Regions from separate parts of the Homo sapiens genome. Here region 2 is linked to region 1. Evidence: promoter capture Hi-C in 16 types of primary human blood cells and fetal thymus (Javierre and others, 2016). All regions are on one chromosome and are shown on one strand. Each heading gives the region's core, a stretch centred on a gene start or on the middle of the fragment in contact. The rest is flanking DNA. Distances are from core to core; before and after follow the strand shown.

Region 1 (2,970 bases), core at 124-2,623:
AGGGCCAACTAGGAATAGGACAAGGTAGAATAATCACTTGTGTGCTGATAAATATTTAACAACCAGTTCTCTGGAGCCCTGATTTGTAGTGTTTGCCAGTTTCTGTGTAAATACTCCCACCATGGCCAATTTCAAACTACCAACCGTTTAACTGGCTCACAATATTCCTAAAACTTGAATAGTTGGCTCTTATGAGCTGGTAGGAGTTGGCTTCAGCACACTGCTGGTTCTACATGCGTCTTTGTTTCTTGTTTTGCATAAATAACAAGTTTTGTCTTCCCAAAAATGTAATAAGCTCCCTAAGGGATGGAATTATGTTCTGGATCTCCTGTGGGCCCATGGTTTCTAAAATAGTTATAGACACAAAAGATTTAACCAAGAGAGTCTGTTTCCTGTGGACATACTGCGTTCTTGGGCTTGCACAGCCGACAACAGGGAGGCTGCCCCAGGGGTGGGCATGGTGTGGGTTGCTGCCTCCTTTCACCAGCCTCACTCTCATTGCCCAGGCTGGAGTACAGTGGTGCAATCTCTGCTCACTGCAGCCTCTGCCTCCCCAGCTCAAGTGATTCTCCCACTTCAACCTCCCAAATAGCTGGGACTATAGGCAAGTGGCACCACACCTGGCTAATTTTTGTATTTTTAGTAGAGATGGGTTTCGCCACGTTGGCCAGGCTGGTCTTGAACTCCTGGCCTCAAGTGATCTGCCTGCCTTGGCCTCCCAAAGTGCTTGGGACCACAGGCAAGTGCCACCACACCTGGCCCCATTGGAGTTTTTGATGTAGGAGATCAGATGTCCTGGATTACAAGGCCACACACATCTCCAGGCTGTACATGAGAGGAGGATGTCCAGAAATCCTCCAGATCTCATGCATGCACCATTGTATTTTCTCACTGTTAAAGTCATGATAAAACTGTGGTGTTTTTTTCTTCATACATGATTTAATATATCTCTAGGAATTCTGGAATAAGAAAATATATAACCGCACAGCAATATTCTTTGAAACAAAATTTCTAGAGAATTTATAAAAATTTGCTTGGATCTTGATTTACAATTGAAATACAAGAAAGGCTAGTGTACAAATTAGGCAAGTTTCTGTGCTGTACATCCAGCTACTGGTACCACAAATAGAGGATATGTTGTGACTTTTTGAGTTGAGGAGGACTTTTATGATCATGTACACTCTACTGTCCTTTAAGAGGCATTCATTCATTCATTCTTCGTTTATTAATTCAGTAAACATTTACTGGCTATTTACTACATTCCAGGTACTGTGGGGATATTGATTGTAATGACATGATCCTTTATTGTCAATATGCTTACAGTCCACTAGGGGGAGCCAAATATATAAATAAGCTTAAGAATTACGTTGAAGGGGCCAGAATAGAAGTCTGTGGAAGGTGTGGGATGGGATGACAGCATCAGAAAGAATTGGGCAAATCTGTCCCAGGACTAGGTCAGAAAAACGCCTCCCTAGGGAAGGTGCCACCCCAAACACGTGTTTCTGAGACCCCTTACCCGAAATAAGGAGGCTGCCAAGGTGAGCATGGAACGGTTAGGCGTTTTGTATGGAGCAAACTGGGGGGACCCCAGCTGAGACCTCTGGCCTGGGCCTTGTGATTCACGCATAGGCTCATCTTATCGGCCACCGGGTCTGAGAAGAAACTACCACCCTGCAAGTTAACAGGGATCCCTCCGAGAACGGGCACCTCAAAGCCTGAGCCACGTGAGAGCAATGTCTGAGCAACACGGTTTTTAAAAATGATCTCTTCTCCTTTATTGCCACATTCACATAAAACGTTTTGATATATTTGGGTTGGTAAAAGCTAAAGAAAATTGAAGTTAAAATATATATGGTTTTAGTGTTCCGAAAAGCAGTTACAGATTGCTTCCTTGGTTTAATTATCGAAGCGGTCGAAATTCTGGGTTTGAAACTCTTGGAAGTCCTCAGGGATGGTGTCTGCAATAGGAATGGGCACAGGGAGGTTAGCGAGGCTCCTTCCACCCCGGACCCCGGACCCCCGCCCGCGGCTCAGGCGTCCTGTAGGGGGCGCTGTTAGCCCGCCCAGGACGCCCCGCAGGCCCTCGCCGCCATTTTCTCCTGCAGGCTGCTTTGCAAACCGTTGGCTTAAAGCCCAGGAGTGCTCCTTCCCGGCCGTGCAGAAAATCAGCAGGCAGAATGGATTTTGCATCTGTGATTATGTTTTAACCACATGAAAATAAAGGCTTCCTGTAAATTAAATCTGACTGGATTTCTCACTGAACCCCAAACCCTAAACCATGCAGTTAAATTCTATGGGTCTTAATTTCCACATGGATAAAATAGGATAAATGTGATCTGCTTTTTACTTCTGGTACACAGGGACTATCAGGTTTTAATGACTATGTGGTATGAGCGTTGGGCTTTTGGGGGGGAAGTGCGGTATAAAAATAAGGTGGCAGTGTTTGACTAATTCTAGTAACAATGTTGAACAGTAACGAGAATGCACATTACCATTGCAGCGATACTTGAGGTTGGACCAGATGATGTTTTCTTGAGAGAAGCAGAAAACGCCAAGTCGGCCTCCACGCATTGTGGTGTCTATGGTGACGCCAGAGTCAGCCACCAACTCAGAGCCTTCATAAAATCGTACCCTGCGGACAACACGGCCGGAGGGGCCTCCATGAAATCCAACCCGGGGTAAAGTGCCCACTGTGAGGCCCAGGGGCCCCACTTCTTATACGTACCTGCGTCTTTCTTTGCTCTGTTTTAGGCTCCATTTTTCGCTGACCTGGATTGTACTGTAGCTGTTGCCACTTACTTACTAGACTGGAAGTCCTTGAGGGCAGGGACCGTGTGTGTCCGTGTGTGTGTGGAGGGGGGTGGGGGGTGTTTCTTCCCAACTTCTGTCTCTCACAAGGCCTAACATGATGTTGGTCACACTATCAAACTTGAGTTAAAAATCAAACCAAACCAAACCTGCTATCTTGAG
Region 2 (2,970 bases), core at 161-2,660, 1.1 Mb after region 1:
TATTATTTTTATCCCCAACACCCAGCTCAGGGCTGGCACATAGCAGATGCCCAGTAAATATTTTGTTGTTGAAAGTAATGTCAAAAGATGATACTTGAAAAGTCCTGGGCCCTCATTATGAAGAGTCTCATGTGCCAAGCTAAGGAATTTGGAGTGTATCCTGGAGAACCTGGGGAGTGACCCAAGAATTTTGAGTAAGGAGTGACACTCTAGTGATGGGAAACAGATTAAAAGTGAGTTCGTCTGATGACTGGGAGATCATTCTCCTAATTATCAAATAAATCCAGTGGAGAGAAGGCGAAGACTTCAACTAAAGCAGTGGCCATAGGATGGAGAAGAAAGAGCAATGAGTGCTATTTAGAAGGAAGGGTGGATACCACATGAGGGACTGCATGTGAAGGGGTGAGAGGAGGATGTTAATGAACTGTGGATTAACTAGGAAACACAGGTGGAGGGGTGTGGGTGGGAAATTGTCAGGACTTGGGTTGGAGGACTCTGGGGTAGCCAAGCAGAGAGTCCCAGAAGGCATCTGAGCATGTGGGTTTGGAGAGCTTAGCTCTGCAAGTATGGCTTTGGACCCTTCAGATATAGGTGGTCATTGAGGCAGGTGAGTGTTGAGAATCCGTTTTCTATAGCACTCTGCACTTGCCTCTGCCCTGGTACTGACCACGCCTTATATTCCTGACCACCTCCTCAACTTTGAGGACAGAGGCCAAGAATCCTTAGCCTCACCCCTGTGTCTGATCACTAGTGAGGGCTCTGTAAATATTTGTTGAAGGGTTTGAATTGTGACTCTGACATTTACTGATTCTGACTAGATGTATTGCTTAATCTATGAGCATTTCAGTTTTCTCATCTGTAAAATGAAGAAAATGTTCACTCCATAAATTTGTCATAAGTATTAGATGAGATAAAGAACATTTGGTACCTCACTAAGTGTTAGTTCCTTTCCATATTATTGATTTGAATCTAAATAAGTCATTTAGAGTAAAGGAACTATACATGAAATCCTTTTTCTTTTTTTAAGATCCCAGTAAGGAAGATCTTGGGTCCCTATTGAGGCCTCATTTCTTCATGCTTTTAAAATTTCCTTTGATTATTATTTACTTTGCATTTAGGCTTAAGTGCTATGCTTAAAATATCAAATGGGCAATTGTTCTTCACTCTACTCTAGAGAGATGAAATCTATTATGAAAACTCTATATTATAGTTGTTGGCCAAAGCAGTTAAACATAAATCTGATAAAGCCACAGGTCCATTTCACAGTTTTCCTTTGAATCATCAGATTAAAAAACCGAAAAATTAAGTGTTCTCTTTAACATCAAATCTAGTAAGATTTAATATTAAAGACATGTAATGGGGGCTTTAGTTTTGAAAATCTGGTTTGATTTGAACGCTAATTAGCCTGATTACTTGCCTGGCTTAGGAACTATATTTTAGTTATTTTCCCAGGTTTCTATTTTATCCCCCTTTTTTAGTGACTATGGTTCCTGTTCTAGTAATATTAAACATTTTTGAGAAGGAATTTTAACTGGTCAGTAATTTTGGTTAGAAAAATGCTATATGAGTGCTTTCTTTTAAATTGCTAAGGGCAGAGAATGAAAACTACCTGTGTGTGGGAGTGATATGATTTGGATCTGTGTCTGCACCAAATCTCATGCCAAATTGTAATCCCCATTGTTGGAGGTGGAGCCTGGTGGGAGGTGATTGGATCATGGGGGTGGTTTCTCATGAATGATTTAGCAACATCCCCTTTGGTACTGTCCTCACAATAGTGAGTGGGTTCTCATGAGATCTAGTTGTTTAAAAGTATGTAGCACCTCCCTCCTGTCTCTTGCTCCTGCTCCTGCCATGTAAGACATGCCAGCTCCCCCTTTGCCTTCTGCCATGATTGTAAGTTCCCTGAGACCTCCCCAGAAGCAAAGCAGATGCCCACATCTTGCTTCCTGTATAGTCTACAGAACTGTGAGCCAATTAAATCTATTTTCTTTATAAATTACCCAGTCTCAGGCATTTCTTTATAGCAGTGAGAGAACAAACTAATACATAAAAATGGTACAGAGGAGTGGGATATTGCTATAAAGATATCTGAAAATGTGGAAGCAGCTTTGGAACTGGGTAATGGGCAGAGGTTAGAAGGATGTGGAGGGCTCAGAAGAAGACAGGAAGATGAGAGAAGGTTTGAAACTCCCTAGAGATGTGTTGAATCGTTGTGACCTAAATGCTGATAATGATATGGACAGAGATGGCCAAGCTGAGGAGGTCTCAGATGGAAATGAAGAACTTATTGGGAATGGGAATAAAGGTCACTTTTGTTATGCATTAGCAAATAACATGGCTGCATTGTGCTCCTGCCCTAGGGATCTATGGATCTTAGAAACTGAGACTGATGATTTAGAGTATCTAGTGGAAGAAATTTCTAAGCAGCAAAGCATTCAAGATGTGGCCTGGCTACTTCTGACAGTCAATGCTCATGTGTGTGAACAAAGAAATGACCTGAAGTTGGAACTTATATTTAAAGGGGAAGCAGAGTGTAAAAGTTTGGAAAATGTGCAACCTGACCATGTAGTAGAAAAGAAAAGCCCATTTTCTGGGGAGGAATTCAAGCAGGCTGGAGACATTTGCATAAGTAAAAAGGAGCCAAGTGCTGATAACCAAAACACTGGGGAAAAAGGTCTTGAAGGCATTTCAGAGACCTTCACAACAATCCCTATCATCACAGCCCCAGAGGCCTAAGAGGAATGAATGTTTTGTGGGCCAGGCCCAAGGCCCCACTGCCTTGCATGGCATTGGGACACTGCTCCCTGCATCCCAGCTGCTCCAGCTCTAGCTGTGACTCAAATGAGCCCTAGTAAAGCTTGGGCTGCTGCTACAGAGGGTGCAAGCCATAAGCCTTGGCAGCTTCCACATGATATTAAGCCTGTGGGTGCACAAAGTGCAAGAGTTGAGGCTTGGGAGCCTCCACCTAAA

The links. Contacts are between HindIII fragments. The CHiCAGO score rates a contact against its expected background, and 5 or more counts as called.
Region 2: a contact is called between a fragment that was not itself captured here and the fragment with the promoter of THBS4-AS1 in region 1, in 1 of 17 cell types (endothelial precursors). The highest score is 5.5, in endothelial precursors.

What each region holds. Positions count from the first base shown.
Region 1 is chr5:80,082,068-80,085,037 of GRCh38, reverse strand. THBS4-AS1 (THBS4 antisense RNA 1) reads left to right here and starts at 1,373. Exons shown (of 8, transcript NR_109930.1): 1 at 1,373-1,538; 2 at 2,501-2,678. THBS4 (thrombospondin 4) reads right to left here. Exons shown (of 22, transcript NM_003248.6): 21 at 2,493-2,632; 22 at 1,751-1,958. The coding sequence ends at 1,897. RefSeq lists silencers at 645-859, 1,975-2,064. The HindIII fragment of the contact is 5,954 bases long and covers 1,357-2,970 here.
Region 2 is chr5:79,012,646-79,015,615 of GRCh38, reverse strand. All of the region lies in intron 14 of DMGDH (dimethylglycine dehydrogenase), which reads left to right. Among named protein-coding and RNA genes, the nearest start is that of ARSB, 29 kb to the right of the region's middle. The HindIII fragment of the contact is 2,899 bases long and covers 1-2,859 here.